Linked DNA regions of Homo sapiens: regions 1, 2, 3, 5, 6 and 7 are each linked to region 4. The links are contacts of gene promoters, found by promoter capture Hi-C in blood cells and fetal thymus (Javierre and others, 2016). All regions are on one chromosome and are shown on one strand. Each heading gives the region's core, a stretch centred on a gene start or on the middle of the fragment in contact. The rest is flanking DNA. Distances are from core to core; before and after follow the strand shown.

The links. The method cuts DNA at HindIII sites, captures the fragments that hold promoters and counts their contacts. A CHiCAGO score of 5 or more calls a contact.
Region 1: a contact is called between a fragment that was not itself captured here and the fragment with the promoter of TCF7L2 in region 4, in 5 of 17 cell types (endothelial precursors, M1 macrophages, fetal thymus and 2 more). The highest score is 11.7, in endothelial precursors.
Region 2: a fragment that was not itself captured here is called in contact with the fragment with the promoter of TCF7L2 in region 4 in 5 of 17 cell types (M1 macrophages, M2 macrophages, M0 macrophages and 2 more); the score reaches 13.7 in M1 macrophages.
Region 3: a fragment that was not itself captured here is called in contact with the fragment with the promoter of TCF7L2 in region 4 in 5 of 17 cell types (fetal thymus, M2 macrophages, M0 macrophages and 2 more); the score reaches 7.8 in fetal thymus.
Region 5: a contact is called between a fragment that was not itself captured here and the fragment with the promoter of TCF7L2 in region 4, in 1 of 17 cell types (endothelial precursors). The highest score is 6.5, in endothelial precursors.
Region 6: a contact is called between a fragment that was not itself captured here and the fragment with the promoter of TCF7L2 in region 4, in 2 of 17 cell types (M1 macrophages and M2 macrophages). The highest score is 8.2, in M1 macrophages.
Region 7: a contact is called between a fragment that was not itself captured here and the fragment with the promoter of TCF7L2 in region 4, in 1 of 17 cell types (fetal thymus). The highest score is 5.1, in fetal thymus.

Annotation. Positions count from the first base shown.
Region 1 is chr10:112,476,161-112,478,860 of GRCh38, forward strand. The region is part of intron 3 of VTI1A (vesicle transport through interaction with t-SNAREs 1A); the gene reads left to right. Among named protein-coding and RNA genes, the nearest start is that of VTI1A, 30 kb to the left of the region's middle. The HindIII fragment of the contact is 917 bases long and covers 870-1,786 here.
Region 2 is chr10:113,391,821-113,394,520 of GRCh38, forward strand. No RefSeq gene overlaps it. Among named protein-coding and RNA genes, the nearest start is that of HABP2, 160 kb to the right of the region's middle. The HindIII fragment of the contact is 2,010 bases long and covers 387-2,396 here.
Region 3 is chr10:113,371,862-113,374,561 of GRCh38, forward strand. No RefSeq gene overlaps it. Among named protein-coding and RNA genes, the nearest start is that of HABP2, 180 kb to the right of the region's middle. The HindIII fragment of the contact is 6,058 bases long and covers 1-2,700 here.
Region 4 is chr10:112,948,887-112,951,586 of GRCh38, forward strand. It overlaps TCF7L2 (transcription factor 7 like 2), which reads left to right and starts at 1,361. Exons shown (of 15, transcript NM_001367943.1): 1 at 1,361-2,059; 2 at 2,321-2,387; 3 at 2,597-2,700. The coding sequence starts at 1,871. It overlaps LOC124902502 (a long non-coding RNA gene), which reads right to left. Exons shown (of 2, transcript XR_007062291.1): 2 at 1,743-2,121. The HindIII fragment of the contact is 8,187 bases long and covers 1-2,700 here.
Region 5 is chr10:112,509,109-112,511,808 of GRCh38, forward strand. All of the region lies in intron 3 of VTI1A (vesicle transport through interaction with t-SNAREs 1A), which reads left to right. Among named protein-coding and RNA genes, the nearest start is that of VTI1A, 63 kb to the left of the region's middle. The HindIII fragment of the contact is 1,231 bases long and covers 749-1,979 here.
Region 6 is chr10:113,444,285-113,446,984 of GRCh38, forward strand. No RefSeq gene overlaps it. Among named protein-coding and RNA genes, the nearest start is that of HABP2, 110 kb to the right of the region's middle. The HindIII fragment of the contact is 1,863 bases long and covers 518-2,380 here.
Region 7 is chr10:112,458,142-112,460,841 of GRCh38, forward strand. It overlaps VTI1A (vesicle transport through interaction with t-SNAREs 1A), which reads left to right. Exons shown (of 8, transcript NM_145206.4): 2 at 2,383-2,441. Among named protein-coding and RNA genes, the nearest start is that of VTI1A, 12 kb to the left of the region's middle. The HindIII fragment of the contact is 559 bases long and covers 1,041-1,599 here.

The DNA.
Region 1 (2,700 bases), core at 78-2,577, 470 kb before region 4:
GTCAAAAAGCCAGCTCTGTTTTAATGTTAAATTGTTTGCTCATAAATAGTAAACTTTTTAGTGGTTGCTTACAGACTGTCCCATGGTCAACAGTAGTCCAATATTCTGCAAATATATGGCCAGAAACTGTGTTATCAAGACTAGTGGAATCTCCGTTTAATTTCCCTGGGAAAAGTACTGCATAGTTTAAAAGACAAACCTTTTCCTTGGCTTTCCCTTTGAGTCACTCTCATTTTTCATGTATGGTATACTATTACTTGGAAAGAAAAGTAGCTAATTGATTTTTAAATGAAATGCCTTTTATGAACGTACTTGCTAGTCACTCTCCTGGTAGAATATCAAACATTAAAGAAGAAACAGTGATGCTGTGGTAGTGATGTTGCTGAAGGGAACAGAGGCCTTAAGGTGATGGCTCAGTATGGTAGTGATGTCCACATGTTCATTGTCCTCTTAAGGCTTACTTACGTTCTAGAATTCTTGAAACTCACAATTTAATACCACAAACTGAACTAGAAGATTTCATACTTTGGCCCTAGGGTTACAAAAGTATTTGAATAAAGTGTGTCAATTTTGTGCTTTGCCAAACTGAAGTAAGGTAGCAATTTGAAATGACACATCATGATTCCAGTGTCTCATTTCTTTTTTCATAAGTCTTCAGTTGCTTTCATACCATTCTTATTGGCTTTACCCAGTTCCACATTTGTGAGATGTGGAACAAAATTTAAAATGGGTTAGGCACTTTTGACTTAGCATATAGCTTTTAGGTGAGTTTAGCTGGTGGTGGTAAAGACTGAGCCAGATCTGATCTCTAGGGTGAAGATTTTTAAACTGTGTAATAGTGGTTGAGTTTTGCTATGTCAACTATTTTAAGCTTTCTTATACAAGAAGTTAAATTGGGACTAGAATAGATTTTGCCAGAGACTTTTCTGATGATTTCAAGTCCTCATAAACCTAGCAGAGAATGGACCATGTGTACAAATAGTCTCATTTTTTGCTTATATTGTTTTGTTTGACTTTGTGTCCTTTAGTTCCCAAAACTGGATGAACTATGTTTTAGGAGTAAAAACAAATAACAACTGTGCAGTCAAATTGTGCTTTTGGCTTTTCTTTTAAGAAGTTCATCAGATCATGGATTAAAAAGCCTTTGCTAGAAATGCCTCTGAAATGCTTAAGTGCGATCATATTGGGAAACCTCTAGAAACGTGACTCCATCCTCAGTGCATTTTATTAGTTCTTGAGGCTCCTCATCTTTGCAAATACACCAAAGCTATTACAGGTCAAGCTCCATCAAAGAAGATTCTAAGGAAATGTCCAAATTTTCTCATTCTCCATTTGGTTCTGTTAAGTATTATTTAAACAAGTTACCACTGTCTTGGACTTGGAAATGTACTGTGAAATGAAGACTTCTTTTATTAGTCATGAAGAATTTGACCTGCAATTGCATTATTAAAATGGAGAAAGAGTGTTAGATTTTATGCTTTGGAAAGTCACATTGCATGGCATTGGCCTTGGTGTGAAATGTCTGATTATAGAAATCAAATGAGTTCCTTAAAACTGTATTTTGTACTTTAAAACAAGGATGCCCTTTGTTAATCTCTTCTGAATTTTTTATCTGATACCTTTTGATTTTCATAATGGAGTATTGCATCTTTGCATATTGAATGACTGACTTTTTTGTTTCATTGTTTTCTTATTTTGACCTTTTTCTACAAACCTAGTCTACAAAAAATTCATCTGAAGTAAGGCTAGAGTTGTCTTACTTATGGAAATGTAATTTTTAAAGTAAAGCTTAGGAGAAAATTACTATCCTCATAGCTAGCATCTTGCAGATTTATATTCATTTTAGTTTCAGTGAAGTTTAAAATTTTTTACTTTTTTGAATGAATGTGGTTCAGTGCTAACCATTTCATCTTTGTATGATCCTGGGCTCCTAGTTGAATGTTCTATTTATACTTCAAAAATATTATGTATATATTATTAGATTGCTAGAAGTAGTGAATCCTATACTTTTCTAATATTGTGTGCAAGCGAAATTTGACCATACTACCAAAAGAGAAAGTGAAATAGTCAGAAAAGCCCAGGCAGTGTAGATTGGAGGCCTTGGACATGTGGCATATTCATTCTGTGCTTCAGTTTCCTTATCTGCAAATCTGGATTCTAATACCAACTCTGCCCACCTAATGGGAAAATGCGAGGGTCAAATAGATAATGTTAAAACACTTGGAGAACTGCACTGCTTTTTAGTCAGTGACTTTCCTGTGAACAAGTGGTAATGCTATAATTAAAGAGGTTAGAGGCTAACGTATCTCAAGGTCAGAAAATTTCTTAAATATCCTGAAAATGTAAACCCTCTTCTGCGTTGCTTCAGAGCGCTAACTGTGGGAGCGTACACAAAGGATTAAAATATGAAATCTTCCATCTCATTCTTGAATATGACCTTCTGAATTGGATAGCTTTTGTATTCTAGCACATTTTGTTTTGTAGAAAACATCTTAGAAATTAATCACTCTATGATAGTAGAGTCAGAATTAAAGGAAGAAGAAATATGATATTACATATTATTTTATATCATTTTATTATTGTATTATATTACTATTTAGAGTTATATTTGCACTGAGTTTTTATCTAGAGTTCATAATACACATTGGATTACTTTGGATTTCCTTCCCATTTCTTCCCTAGCTTCTAATAACTGACACA
Region 2 (2,700 bases), core at 142-2,641, 440 kb after region 4:
GGGCTCCACTGTAAAAAAGTAAAAGCTCTCAAGTACAGAAATCCTTCTTCTGAACCAAGTGTTGCCAGATAAAATACTGATGCCCAGTTAAAATTTGCATTTCATGTAAACATTGAATAAACTTTTAGGATAAGTATCTCCCATGCAATATTTGGGCTATATGCATCCTTAAAAAGTATTTATTGTTCATCTGAAACACAAATTTAATTTGGTGTCTTTTTTTTTTTTTTTCTAAATCCCTGTGGAACTCAAAACAAATATATCTGAACCAATCAAAAAACTGTAATGTGGGTCTGGTATCCAAGTGCATCTCAGAGACATGGTTAATATGGTTATAATAATAATAATAATGACAGTTAAGCACTGGAACGTTGGGATTTCTGTGAAGCTTCTATGGTTTATGTGGGATCGATGACAGACATTCGAATTAGAATTGGCACAGAAAATCTGGGACAGATGGTTACTGTATAGATAGGAGGTGACTTTTGACTTGATTAGAGTGATTCTCAATCCTGGCTACATACCAGAATCACCTAGGGAGTTTTAAAAAGTACTGATGCCTGGGCCCCATGACATGCTGATAGTAAAATATTCTCACATTCCAAGGCTTCCCAAATGGTGTAGGTGAAACAGTGGTACAGGAGTTCAGAAGAGGGGATGCTGTACAACTGGAATGGTCCCATTGGCTTCCATGGAAGAATAGGGGACCCAATAGGCTGAAGGATGGAGAAAGTTTTTATAGGCAGAGAGGAGCAAGGAGACTATGCCAGGTGAAGGAATGGCTTGGAGAAGAGGGTTTGAAAGAAAAAAGTGTGAGCCAGGTACAGAGGACAGACCAGTCAAATTAAAGTGGCACATCTAACTAGGAGCAAATTTGTTTAAATTAAACTTATTGTTTCTGTGTAAAAAATAATAGGCCAGGCACGGTGGCTCATGCCCGTAATTCTAGCACTTTGGGAGGTCAAGACAGGTGGATCACCTGAGGTCATGAGTTACAGACTAGCCTGGCCAGCAGGGTAAAGCCCTGTCTCTATTGAAAATACAAAAATTAGCTGGGCGTGGTGGTGGGTGCCTGTAATCCCAGCTATTCGGGAGGCTGAGGCAGGAGAATCACTTGAACCTGGGAGGTAGAGGTTGCAGTGAGCCGAGATCATGCCATTGCACTCCAGCTTGGGCAATAAGAGTGAAGCTCTGTCTCAAAAAAAAAAAAAAAAGAAATTAATAATACATTAATAATACATGAAGTTGTGGCATTTTATAAAATGCAATAAAACAAGATAGAGAAAATACCATTGCCTGTCAATCCATCGTTGAATGGAAATCACTTATGAATTCGGGCTACTTTTCTATGTCCTTTTGGACATTGATGAGAACACACCATACCACAATCGTGTACCCTACATTTTTAAACACTCGATCACAGGCATTTCTCCCTGCCATTAGAAATTCTTCATGAATGTTTATGCTGGCCTCACTGGTCACCATGTTATCCATGTAGCGTAAGTCTCTCAACCTTTCTCTCACAGTTAGACATTCTAGTTGTGTGCAGTTTTTTACATATTTGGATGTTGATTTGAGATTTACAAGAAGTGAGTGGGAGAGACTGAATATAGGACTTTCCCTAGTAGCCCATGGTCTAAAAGAATTTGGAGGGACTTGCTTCAGACCGTGCCTTCTTAAGTCCCAGAGAAGAACTTTGAAGTCTTTACCATCCAAACCAGGCTTCAGATTCCTCAAAGTCAAAATGGCGCCCATCTTGGGGTACTCTAAGCAATGTGTGATGCTTTCCCTCCCCAGCCCGAAATCACAATTCCTAACAAATAGAGGTGCTACTCACTCTCAGTACAGACCTCTGTCTGGCCAAGAAAGTACTGTTGTGACCTAGGATTTTTTTTAACACCCAATTAAATTTGTGTAATTGGATAGAACTGCAACTTCTTTGCCTCCAGCTGATTCATAATCTGTTTCACACCCGAGTGTTGTTTTTCTTGATTTTTAGTATTTTTCCCAGAGTAGTGGAGATGGGGTACAAGGAGAGAGCCCTTTCCTACTTTTTGATGTATCGATTATTTTTCTACCATTTTTAAGAAGGTACAGGTGGTTGGCCTATCATTAATTTTTCTTGGGCCAGGACTCTATTTGAACCCAAGTTTTCAGCACCCGACTATTTCTGGAGACTGCTATTTAAAATGTCTAGGCATATGGAAACAGTCCAATTAGGAAGAAACAGTTGGTCAAGCTGGAGACTCAGCTCACGTGCCAGCTATGAACAAAATGGAATTTTGTCTGAAACTCACTAGGTGCAATTCCCAAGGCTGTGGGAATGACAAGTAGATCATGCTACTGTGTTACATTCTGTGGGTTGGAAAATAAACTTAATTGAGGGGTACCAAAGAAGCTTGAAGTGCCCTCTTAATATTTAATGATTTTTATCAGAGCTCCATAGTTGAATACGAAGTAAATAGGGAGGGGTATTTTTGGCCTCCATCAGGTTGTATTATCTAGACCTCTTTTCTCCCTTGGGACAACACCCCTGTCTCGCTTGCTGAAGCTGTGCATATTCCTGACCTGAGCTGACAGTCATTCACTCTGTAGAAGACTCGTATGTTGATGAATGCTTCTCAAACTTGAACATGCGCTGGAATCACCTGGAAGGCATGTTAAACTCCAGATCGCAGAAGCCCACTTCTGATTCAGTAG
Region 3 (2,700 bases), core at 100-2,599, 420 kb after region 4:
GTGTGCGGGCATGCATGTATGCACATGTGTGTGTGTGTGCATACATCCCCCCGCCCCCCACCTTGCATCCCTTCCTCTGTCCTAATAGCATTTTCTTCCAGGAATTCTCACTCCTTCTGAAGAACCCTCTGCAGGCATTTTATCTTACTGCCCAGTAGAGCCAAGCAATGGTGGACCTAAGTTTGGCTAGCTGGGCCCTCGCCTCTGAATCCTGACTGAATGGCAGAATGAACAAATGGTTGGTGCTCCTTCTTTACAGTAGCAATGCCCAGATGAGAAGATCAAGGGGTTCCTGCCACAGAGACCTTATATCTGGTTCCTATCCATCCCTAGCTGGGTTCTGTGGCTTTCCTCTCCCCCACTGTGTACCTCAAATCCTTCCAGTAGATTCATTTTTTTTGTTGCTAAGTTCATCAGTGTTCGTTTCTGTTGCTTGCAACCAAAACGGCTACTAATGTGATGGGATGAAGAAGTTAGGGTATCTTCTCTGAGATTCTGAATCTCTGTGATTGCTGGTAATGCAAGGATAGGAAAATTCTTTCTTTCTTGAACAAGAAACAGAAATCCATTCTAACTGGCTCAAGGAAATGGGGGTGGGGTGGAGGGGGTGTAAAGATACAGAGTCTTCATGGGAATCTAGAAAAAGTTGAACTATTAGGTTTGAAGTAGGAAAGGAATGAAGGGCCTCCTCTCTCTCTCTCCACTCCTGCTTCCCATTCTTTTCTGTGCCATTACTGATGTTCTGTTCTATTATCTCTCTCTCTATTGGAGATTCTGTTTCATGCAAGCCCATGTAGAGGTGCTGTCAGTGCCTTGCACAAATGCCGTCAACACTCATCACTTCTGGGCACAATAGTTCATGGCTTAACTGCCAATACTTGTGACTCTTTGCTGAGGGCTTTCTTACAGGGCAGGCCAGTAGTGCTAGGGAACTAACACCCCTTCAAGCAGTTCTCGACCAACAACTGATAGCAGTTAAAGGATAAATACCCCAACTCCCTCACCCCTTGGCCAAGATAACTCTGAAGCACATGTTCTGCTTTGACTCTCAGAGTTCCCCAGCAAGGCTACCCCACAGTGAAAATGTGTTTCATTGGCTCCTACCCTGTCCTGTCCCACTTTCCCATTTCCTAATCAGTATTTTCTGGGACCACCTCCCAAATAGACTCAAGGTTCTACTTCCGTGGGAATACACTAAAATAGACCATTATGCCCCTAGCCTGGTATTGACATAACCATGCAACTCTAGCACCCATAGCTCACTAGCAGTTTCATTCTGTCTCACTTTGTTCATATCCCCAACAGAAAGATTGGCTAAGCACATCTCTTTAAGTCATGCTCAGAGGGGGCCATGGATGGTCACCCCAGGTCAAATGACCACACCGGTCCATCTTAACCAAGAGGAGAGGGTCATAAGGACAGCTGCTCAGGTATGGGTAGGTAGGCACCTTGAGACTCAACTGGGCTACTCACCTTTCAGGGAACAATCACACAGGTGGTTGCATGGGAAACTCAAAAGGAAAGACTGTTTATTGGACATCAAATTATTATTTTCAAACAATACTTTGATAGTTTAAGTACAGAAGACTAAGAAACACATGGATTAAATTGCCATTGAAATACACACTCGCGTTTGAAAACCAGCAGAATATGTGCTTGGTAAGGGATTTTTTTCTCCTTTTCTTTTTGCCAAGCCACCAGATTATTTGGATAATAACTCAGGAATTTTTCACAGCTCTGGAGGTTTTACTCCTACACCCTCCATCCCTTTGCTTCAGTTTTCCCTCACACAGAGTTAATTAATAAAAGCAACATTTATCAAGGACATCAAGTCATTCTGTATGTGTGTCATAGGGTGTTGCGGGTGGCTGTGATAATCTGCAAGACGGATCCATTTCAGGGAGATCTGAAAGACTCTAACACTCATTGCACACCTACTGTGTGTTGGGCACATTGTGCTGAGCATTTAATATGATCATTTAAGCCCTGGGAGGCCCCTACCAGGTGGGCGCTGTCACTGTTCTTCATTTACAGATTAGAAATTGATATTTAGGGTTAGAGGTATATTTCCCAGGTATGGACAGCTAGTAAGTGGCAGAACTTACATTTGAACTCTCTCCTTCTGTCTTCAGAAACCACTGAGTGAGGGCAGGGCATGGTGGCTCATCCCTGTAATCCCAGCACTTGGGGAAGCTGAGGTGGGACAATTGCTTGAGGCCAGGAGTTCAAGACCAACCTGGCCAACATAGTGAGATCTCATCTCTCTCTAAAAAAGAAATCAGTGGGTGATCCTACCCTCTCTGTGTGTAGAGATTCATGCAACCTCCCCATTGGAAAGGGATTCTAGTACCACCCCTTCATTTTACAAAGGAGAACACTGAGGCCCAGAGAGTTCAAGCTAGATTATTTTACTTGGGAGCCTGGTTTAGACAGACAAGTTGTTAGTCAGGAGGATTCATCTGGTTGCTTCTCCAGGTGTTAAATGTTTGACAGATGCAAAGGAGAATCCACCGGTTATAGCTGTAACATCCAGCACTCAGGCCTAACCCTGCACACTCAGATGGAATTATTTCTGTAGGACTTGTGATCATAAGGACAAGATTTGTTTATCACCACACTGGTGAGAATATTGGGGGTTCCAGATGTGGCTCTCTACCAAAGGGCCACTGGATGGCCCACCAGCCCCCAAATATCTCTCCC
Region 4 (2,700 bases), core at 111-2,610:
TAAATCCTACTGATTTATTTTTTTCTTTTTTCTCTTTTTCATGTTGTAGTGTCCAGTCTACTTCTTACTGGGTATTTGCAAAAATGAATTTTCTTGCTCTATCACCCAGGAACATTGTGTTTTGGGAGCTGGGTCTTTCCTCTTTAACATAATTCCATTCCCCATTTTGTAGCAAATCAGTCTGCTCCTCCTCTAATACCTAAAAGTCAACAAATACCTGCCTCAAGCCCCAGGTTTCCCATCTTCTCCCGAAGGTCTTCTAGCATCGGTTTGGTTAGCAATTTCCTGCCAGAGCCACCTACATCTTGATTATTTTGGTCAGTCTTTCGGGGATTTCATTTCAGACCCCCTTCGAGAAACACTGTAGCCCAACTGATCCCAGGGGTTGGTGAACTTTCAGTTTTATTTTCCCTGACGGTGTTAACGCCCAAACTTTTCACCTCCTAAGTCAAAAAGGACTTTGACTCTAGCTCATTTCCTACTACCTCCAACGTCAGTTAAAAAAAAAAAAAAAAAAGCAAAACACCACTCTACATTTAAAAGAATCATATATTTTTCCTTAAGGATACTTTTAATGTTTCTGACATTTAGCATTTGTTTTTTGCATAAAAAGTCGTTTTGGCATATCCATCCTAGTGGGACTTAACATTTCATGAAATGATTCACTACTAATAAACAAAAAAGGGAGGAGGGAGGCCTCATGGGTTAATAGTTTCTTTCATTGTAGATGACCAGGAACTTTGACCAGCCCCTTCACTTCCCCAAGCTCTCTGAAAGTGGAGGGTTGATCTTTCCTTTTGACCACTTTTGTCGCATCCCGTCTAAGGGTGGCTGATTTCACTGCTGAATTAACCACCAAGCACCCCCCCACCCCCTCCCCCAGCCACCACTTTCTCAAATACTACCCTTCCTTTTCCCCCTCCCTTAAGACTTATTTCTAATATTTCTAAAGTGCACTGTTTTGGGCCTCTCCCCATCCCCGCCCCCCAAGTGGGCTTTCCTTCCGCCTTCCTCGGCTCGGATTCCTGACTTGGTCGCCACCCCCTTCTCCTCCTCTCCCACCCCGCATTGTCTTTCTGAAACCGCCCCCTCCCGGAGCAAGTCCCTGCACCCTCGCCCAGAATCCCGGGCTCGCACACACTCCGCGCAGGCCGCTCCCCCTGCACACTCCTCCCTCCGTCTCCCCCCGGCTTCCCCGCCCCTCTCTTCCTCCTTCTTTCCCTCCTCCCTCTCCCGGCGCCCGAAAGGATCATTGTTAGCCGCCCCCGCCCCGCCCACCCCGGCTGTTTATTTATGCACACGTCACTGGGCCGGCCCCGCCCTCCGGCATCTCATTAAGGCAGTGTGTTCCTCTCGCCCTGTCAATAATCTCCGCTCCCAGACTACTCCGTTCCTCCGGATTTCGATCCCCCTTTTTCTATCTGTCAATCAGCGCCGCCTTTGAACTGAAAAGCTCTCAGTCTAACTTCAACTCACTCAAATCCGAGCGGCACGAGCACCTCCTGTATCTTCGGCTTCCCCCCCCCTTTGCTCTTTATATCTGACTTCTTGTTGTTGTTGGTGTTTTTTTTTTTTTTACCCCCCTTTTTTATTTATTATTTTTTTGCACATTGATCGGATCCTTGGGAACGAGAGAAAAAAGAAACCCAAACTCACGCGTGCAGAAGATCTCCCCCCCCTTCCCCTCCCCTCCTCCCTCTTTTCCCCTCCCCAGGAGAAAAAGACCCCCAAGCAGAAAAAAGTTCACCTTGGACTCGTCTTTTTCTTGCAATATTTTTTGGGGGGGCAAAACTTTTTGGGGGTGATTTTTTTTGGCTTTTCTTCCTCCTTCATTTTTCTTCCAAAATTGCTGCTGGTGGGTGAAAAAAAAATGCCGCAGCTGAACGGCGGTGGAGGGGATGACCTAGGCGCCAACGACGAACTGATTTCCTTCAAAGACGAGGGCGAACAGGAGGAGAAGAGCTCCGAAAACTCCTCGGCAGAGAGGGATTTAGCTGATGTCAAATCGTCTCTAGTCAATGAATCAGAAACGAATCAAAACAGCTCCTCCGATTCCGAGGTAGGAAAAGCCCCTCGGGCTGGTGGGGTTTTTTATCTGTTTCCTGGGCTTGGCAAATGTTGCTGAAAGGGGAGAAATCGGGGCTGGGGGCGGCGGCGGGGCCCGGCGGGCGGCGTGTGCGTACGGTGCCACCATTGCAAAAACTTGTAACCCTGTTTTTTTCTACCCCCCCCTCGACCTCGCCGATTCTTTTTCTCCCCCTTCTCCCCCTTCTGCGTGGCGTTTGCCCCTCGCCCTCCCCACCTCCACCCCTCTGGGAAGGCGGAAAGACGGCCTCCGCCTCGCTCCGAAAGTTTCCGAGACAAATCCCGGGAAAGTTTGGAAGAAGGTGAGTACGCCCCGCGCGCCCCGCAGCCGCCCGGAGCCGCCCCCCGGGCCGGCCGCCCCGCGCGCCCCGGCCCCGCGCCCGGCTCGGCCTGGCCCTGCGCCGGCCCGGTCGGGGCGCCCGGCCCCTCGGGGCACTTTCTAAAAAGTTTCTCCTCACTCTCTCCCGCTCCGCGCGGCCGCCGCTGTCCCCTCGCCGCCCCGCCATGTTAGCGGCCAAGAGGCAAGATGGAGGGCTCTTTAAGGGGCCACCGTATCCCGGCTACCCCTTCATCATGATCCCCGACCTGACGAGCCCCTACCTCCCCAACGGATCG
Region 5 (2,700 bases), core at 114-2,613, 440 kb before region 4:
GTATGCTAGAGGATAAACTTGCTGGCATTCTCAATAATAATTGTTATAATCAGAGTAGTTGTTTTTAATTCCTAGTATGTGCTAAGCACTATAATTGCTGTTTTATTAACTTTATCTTAGCTAGACCTGAAGTCCATATGAGTTCTTAATCACCGCTTAAAAGACAAAGCTGGAATTTGAACCCAGGCTCATCAGTTGCCCAAATCCGAGGCCTTTCTACTTTATAATATTGTTTCTTCTAAAGGCAAGAAAATACCAGCCAAGAAAACAAATTTAAAGGAGTGGTAGAAAGTAGCCCCAAAACTCAATTAAAAATTAAGGTGCATTTACAATGTGAAATATAATTAGAGCAAAAATAAGAAAAAGAAAAAAGAATGACCTCTTCCAGTTTACATATCAGGCGTTAAGATTGAATGCCCTGTGGTTCATGTGAGACTCTGGAAGAGTTTACTAATGTTCATCTCTGGGTCTAACTGGGGCTACCATGCCCAAAGATAATTCAGAGAAAATTCTGGGGAGTGCCTGTCAGAGGAGTTGGAAAATTAGATGGATGAAGAAAAGTCCTGGGATCATTTTCCCTGGTTGGAGAGTTGTAGAGTTGTTAAGAGTCCTCACGTCTGTGAAGAGCTATTATGCCAAATATGGTCAGCAGCTGTTTATTGATCTCTACTGCATGTGCAACTGCAGAACATAGGTTTAAGTTTAATTTGGAAAAATCATTCCTGCCAGTAACCAGTGATGGTTGGTAAGCTTCTTTGTGAAAGGTAAGGGACCTCCTTCCTGAGGTCTTTTTAAGATACATTCAGTGTAAGATGCTGTGAGGGAGCAAGGCACCCTAAAGGACCTCTCAAGGTCCCTTCTAGCCCTAAGGTCCCATTATTATTGCATATTTATAGAACGCCAAAATCTTCTGTGTTCTTTGCAAGGACTAGAATTACATTCAATCCCTGTCCAGTGCTATCACAGTCAAAATTAGACAGATCAGCAATATCTTAGTTGCCAAATCGAGTTAAAGTTTACTGGGCACATGTCTACCTGAAAGTGTGTATTCTCTTCAAGAACATTTGACAATGACCTAAGAGCACGGTAAAAGATCTTTGGTTAGTGCTGAAGCATTCCAGTGAGATTTGCATTAAGTTCCTCTAGGCATTTTTGTATAAACATCAATCTGGCATTTATTCTTATCTGTTAAGCAATCTAATTTAGAATTGTTGTCCCAAAAACTTTTTATTTAGAATAAAGTGGACCTGGTGTGGTGGCTTATGGAAGTAATCCCAGCATTTCGGGAGGCTGAGATGGGGGATTGCTTGAGGCCAGGAGTTCAAAACCAGCCTGGGCAACATAGCAAGACCCCATCTCTAAAAAAATAATTAAAAAGTTAGCAGATTGTAGCAGCATGCACCTGTAGTACCAGCTACTCAGGAGGCTGAGGTGGAAGGATTGGTTGAGACTGGAAGGTTGTGGCTTCGGTGAGCTATGACTGTGCCACTGGTCTCCAGCATGGACGACAGTGAGGCTTTGACTCAAAAAAACCACCACCACCACCACCACCACAAAAACAATTATAGTTAAACGAAAGAGAAAAAGAATTCATACTTCATTGCCAAATAGTTTTAAATGCTATGGAATACTCTTTTATTTTGAACTGATAACTTTGAACTTCTCTGACCATGGATGATTTGGAATCCATACTAATTGGTGAAATAAAAAATAAAAGTATGTTGCTAATTTAAAACTGTAAAATAAAGTCTCATATTTTATTGCTAAAAAAGGAAAACACCATCATATGGGATAAAAGTTTAAATTGCCTGAATTTGAAAGGAATCATGGTCTTATGTTTTTGTTTAACATTAGCTATCATTTCTTCAAGGATTTATTTGATATTCACTAATCTCAGACATTAGTTACTTGTTGAAAATTAGCTTACCAGGGACCTTTGCCCCCTTTTTTGCTAATCTTTTCATTTTTAGATCATTTTAAGCTTTGTATTTGAAAATAATCTCAAACTTGCTGAAAAGTACAAAGTAGTACAAAGAAGAACATACACTCTCTACCGGGGTTTACCTTTTGTTAGCGTTTTGCTCCATTTGCTTATTTATTTATTTAATCTGTACAAATGTATGGGATACATGTGAGGTTTTTTTTTTTTTTTCTTTTTCAGAGTCTTGCTCTGTCACCAGGCTGGAGTGCAGTGGCATGATCTCGGCTCACTGCAACCTCCGCCTCCTGGGTTCAAGTGATTCCCCTGCCTCAGCCTCCCAAGTAGCTGGGACTACAGGCGTGTACCACCACGCCCAGCTGATTTTTTGTATTTTAGTAGAAACAGGGTTTCACCATGTTGGCCAAGGATGGTCTAGATCTCCAACCTCATGATCTGCCCACCTCGGCCTCCCAAAGTGCTGGGATTACAGGCATGAGCCACCGTGCCTGGCTCATGTGAGATTTTTTACATATTTGTATAATGCATAGTGTTCAATTCAGGTTATTTACGGTGCTACCACCCAAGTTAAGTATATTCACTCTACTCTGCTGTCAGATGTTGAATTTGTTCCATCTTACTGAATGTTTGCACCCTTTAACCTGCTTCTCTTCATCCTCCCTCCTCCTCCTCCTAATTCAACTTTCCCAGACCCTGTTACCTATATTTCCACCGTCTACCTCCATGTGATCAAATTTTTTAGTTCCCACATATAAGTGAGA
Region 6 (2,700 bases), core at 199-2,698, 500 kb after region 4:
ATGTACGGGATTTCTCTCTGTGGTTGCAAGATGGCAGTTCTTATGCTTCCAGGTATCATGATTGCATTCCAGGAAGGAAGAAGAGGGCTTAGAAAAAGAAAAGACCTTTGTGAAATCTGCTTTAAAAACAAAATCGAGGAAATAACAGCTTTCCAGGAAGACTTACCCAGCAAATACCCATTTTCATTGACCAGAACTATGTCATGTGGCTATCCCAACTACAAAGGATGCTAGAAATTGGGTTATTCTTGGATGAATACATTGTGGTCATGAACAAAACTGGGATTCTCTTGGTAAGGAAGAAGGGAAGGACAGCTATAGGCCAACTAGCAACGTGTGCCGCATCCATGGATTGAGTTCCTACTGGGGAAACATATTTCCTTGTAAGAACCCTGCGGGGAAGCGGTGATGATATTCATGTCTGCCAGATGAGACAAGGGGTGCCTAGTGAGGTTAAATCATTTGCCTAAGGTCACACTGCTGGTTAATAGTTGGAGTTCAGACAGACCAGACCTGAAGCTTGGGTTTTTCTCTGCCTACACCACGGTGCACTAGTCATGGGTTCTCAAATACTCAATCTGTAGCCACATAGTGGGAGTCCTGATGACCAAGATTTTGTCCAGCTGAAAAACAGGATGGGAAACTCAGAAGACACTCTTGCCCTTCCAGTGTGCCTCTGTTGCTTGCCTGGTTCCAAGCCACATGTTAATAACACCCATATGGGTTTCATTTCCTCCAGAGCTTGCCCAAGTAAGCCTCCAAAGCAACCTGGCTTGCCATCCTCTGCCTCCTCCTGCCAGCCCCTAACCCCTGCTCACAGGTGGAGTTGACCCATTCAAACTGGAGACACCCTGGGCTGTGCAATTAGGCTGGAGAAGACAGACCCCATTTCAAAAGGTGACTCCCTACCATTTTGAAATAGGACTTCATTAATTGCATTCCCCTATTGATTCATTACCATGAAACAGCCTGGAGTGCTTGCCTGTAGCCTAACCTTTCTCAACAGAGGGAGCCAGACGTTCTTTGCAGGTAATCTACAGGGCCCAACAGCAAATATCTGGAATCGGGACTATTCATGCATGAACAATATAGCAGCTCCTTATTGTTACACGCATTGTTCTCTGACAAAGAGCAACGGGCAGGTTAAATCTATTTTAGCTGAGAAGGCTCTACAGAAATCCTTGCTACCGAGCATTTGATACTGATCACAGAGTCACATCAGGGAACAGCAGCTGAAAGGAGAAAGTCATTTTTATTTCTGAACTTTAGAGGAGACAACCTCTCCTCCGCGCTGGCTCCCCAGGACCTAGGCCTCTAGGTGGGAGTGAGGATTTTGTTTTGTTTTGTTTTTTAATGCCACTCAATGAGAATGAGTTTCTTAAGGGAATCGGGGGCTGGACGGTTAGGGGGAAAAAGGTATTACACAATGTCGCATTCAGGCAACATATGTGAACTCTGGATTCATTCAATTTTAAAAACGTGTTCTCAGGGGAATCAAGTCTGTGAGCTGTGAATTATAACGAAGGGCGTGGCAGCCTCAGGGTTGGTGGTGCCTAAATGGTACCATTTGGAACAGCAGAAAAACAGGAACTTGATTCTGCCTTGGATTTGCCTCTGCTCAGCCGGGCAGTGGAAATGCCACTTGCTCAATTCACCCTCCTTCTCCAAAGGGTGAGCCCATTGAGACTGAGACTTCTGTAAGGCCCAACATGCATGAGGGCTGGGAAGAGATGGGCAGGGTGAGATATGGATGGAAGAAAAATTATTTAATCCAATCCTTATATTACAGCAGCAGAGACAGGACCAGGGCGAGGGTGTGCCTTGCCCTTCTAGTGAGTGCTGAGATTAGAAGCCAACCCACAACTATTCATCCTCCATGGTAATTTTCAGTAAGAAGCATGGTGTTGAACTGGGCCAGGAGGATGGCAACAATTTAGCTCGGGGGCTGGTGGGAAGGACAGTATATCCAAATCATTTAACAACCAGTCCAGGGTGGGCACCACTAGATCGGGCAAAGGCATCAAGCAAGCATAATGGACACTAACCACAAATGCCATTTGTGCCCCCAAGTGGGTCCTGATGCTGACTCTCAGGCCTCTCTAGACCTCAGTGAAACCATCATGGAACAGCCCTGGGATAGAGCCATGTGAAGGAAGGAGCAGCTGACAGTCACCCAGTCACTGACTGATGTGTCAGGAAAGTAGGTGATTCCATTAGTTGGTTGAAATTGTTTATTCTACAAATATCTAGAAAGGTGCATGAAATAAACAAAGACCAACCAAGTGAGGGAAGCAAAGCCTATTTATTCAGAGCTTGCTATAGCAAGGGAGTCAGCCACCACCCTTTGCAAAGACTCAAGGGCAGGCCAGGGGAGTGGGAAAGCTTTATAGAGAGAAAAGGGAAGCCTCAGGTGTGTGCAGATTTGAGGCTGTTGGTTTTGGGGAGCTGTGTGTGGGATAACTAGAAAGGGGGCATCCTATCTGATTGGTTGGGGTGCATATTTGGCTTTCTCTGGTTGGTCCTTAAGTTGGAAGTGGAGACAAAAATTAGGGAAGTGTCAGTTATTAATCAAGTCCCATCTATTTGAGGCAGATTGTTACAGGGGTTGCTGTTTAGCTTCCTGGATTGTCACTAGAGAGAGCAAACTGGCTTCCCATAAATCCGACTTACAGCAGACTGGCTTCCTGGGTTGTTTGTTGT
Region 7 (2,700 bases), core at 70-2,569, 490 kb before region 4:
TTTCTTTGTTTTATTTTGCTAATGAGAAAAACTGATGCTTATTAGTCCTGGAGGTCCACGGCATGGACTTTCCTATCAACTGAATACCTTAAAGAGAACAGGATGTTCCTCCTGATACGTAAATACACCATCTCAGTTTTGATCCAAGATAAGCCTGTCTTATTTTGTATTTTTCTCTATCACAAAAATGTAGTCTATTCTAACTGTAACTGTGTGAAGATACTAAAAGGGTTGAAATGTCCCAGAAGCAAATACATTTGGGATCATCTATTAAATATTTAATCTGGCCATATGTAGATTTAACTTTTCAAGGAGGGAAAATCAAGTTGAATTGTAATCCCAAAGGCTTATTTTTCTTAGGGAGAAATATTGTGAGTACACATAAAACACCTTATGTGACAACTGTTCCCCCTCTGTAGTTTGGGGATAACAAAGGGAAAGGGTTAAGATTAGTAGAATCTACTAATAATCTAATCATTGTTTTAGTGAAATAATTATATATATATTTTTATTTTTATTTTTATTTTTATTTTTATTTTTTTTGAGACAGAGTCCCGCACTGTTGCCCAGGCTGGAACGCAATGGTGCGATCTCGGCTCACTGCAACCTCTACCTCCCGGGTTCAAGCAATTCTCCTGCCTCAGCCTCCCAAGTAGTTGGGATTACAGGCGCCCACCACCACACCCAGCTAATTTTTTGTATTTTTAGTAGAGACGGGGTTTCACTATGTTTGCCAGGGTGGTCTCAAACTTCTGACCCTGTGATCCACCCATCTAGGCCTCCCAAAGTGCTGAGGTTACAGGCGTGAGCCACCGCGCCCGGCCAGTGAAATAATAATTTCTATTAAAGCTTCCCCACTTAGGATTGGCTGTCCTTCTGAAGGCTGGTCAGCTGGTAGGTGTTGTACCCATTTCAAGCTTCATGACTTTTCTAGTCTGTTGTGTTAGTCAGTCTCATTAGGCTCCCATGTGACATAAACCCAGTTTTAAATAAAGAACAAGAAAGTTGTTGGCTCAAGAAACCAAACTATGGTAAAGTCAAGCTTTTATAAAGTCAAGCCATTTCAGTTATTTCAAGCCAGGAACTAACTATATCTCTCTCTCTCTGTCTCTCAGTTGTGTTTCTTTTTAAATGCAGGTTTTATTTTCAGCCATTGCACGCTTGCTTTCTTCTTGGAGCTAGACCAATGGATGCTAGCAGCGCTTCTAGGCTCATTTTTTCGTTACCAGGAGAAAGGAAAAGGCTTTCCCCTTGCTCTAGAACTTTGTTCTCTCTGGTTCATATATGCCTATCCCACCGCCCAACTCCCAGATGAATGTGGCCAGAGGATTGAGTTACTGAGATTAGTCCAGCTAGGATTAGATGCCGGTCATTTGCCAAGTCACTGTGACTGAAGAAGCAGAGTCTTTATGGAGATAGCATTTTCATTGTCCTGCTTGGTGAGGAAGAAGGCCTTTGAAGAGAGTAGGGGCTGTTGCCTGAGAAGAGAAGCATGCTAGGCAGACAAAAACTAGAGATGTTCAATACATCTGGTTTGCACAAAACTTAACTAGGGTATGTGAACAAATAGGCTGACTGGCTGGAATGAGGGTATGGGAAAGCTTTCTGAAATTGTCTGCCAGGACATGTCTCTCCTAGAGAAGGGAATTACAGTTGGGTTATAACTTGATTGTATTAGAAAAATAAACCACATACAGAGACTTAGCACTTTATAATATTAAAGTAATTTCACTTGCATCAAGCTTATTGGAGCTAAAAGTAATCCCGTAGATATTTTTTATTTCCATTTTAGAGAGTACAGAGTGAGTCTCAGAAAAAAAGAGAAAAATTTCTTGCCCAGGATCCCATAACCATTGAGTGAGATAGTAGCTTTCGGTTTGGAATCAGTAGTCCTAACTTCAAATATTTATTCCATTACACCTGATTCTCCATGCTACTGAAAGTACAATTTTTTAAAGGATTGTTTTTGCCCAGTTTTAGGAAGTGTTTTTGTATATAACTTTTAAATTGTATTAACAAATCAGTTATTCCCAATTTATTAAAGTTATGACTTCACAGATTCCTTAGGCCAGCACAAATCTGCTCTTGTTGACTTAGTCTCTCCTAAAGGGCAACATAATTTTTAGTCTCTCTTAAAAATAGGTCTCTCTTAAAAATGGTGTCTCTTAATAATTAGGTATTCTATCAGATTATATGTTTCTAGATAGCCTGGAATCAATGGCTTAAAGTGGTTTCAAACCCACCAAAGAATGATATGCTCTTTTGCCTTATGTTCTGTAATCTGATTGACCAGAAAGGAAAAAGGCATATAAAAATTGAAGTTTTAAAATATTAAATTTATTTGTATCTTTAGCAATTTCTTGGTATTATTGTTTGTTTCAGATGAAAAGAAACAGATGGTTGCAAATGTGGAGAAACAGCTTGAAGAAGCGAAAGAACTGGTATGTACAGACAGTAATGTATTTTAACACACAGCCAGAGCCGTTTAAGCTAATGTCTTCCTCTAGCCTGTTTTATACATTGTGGAAATGTGAAGCATTGCTGATTAGCATTTTATAATTCAGAATTTGTCAATTTTTAAATTGAAGAGATTTTAGTAGCTTCTTGGGATTTTATTCTTCTTAGCAAAGGTGATTCATTAAATATCTATCTCTAATTTTTATTCCATCATAATACGTTTCATAACAGCTGTAAATAGCT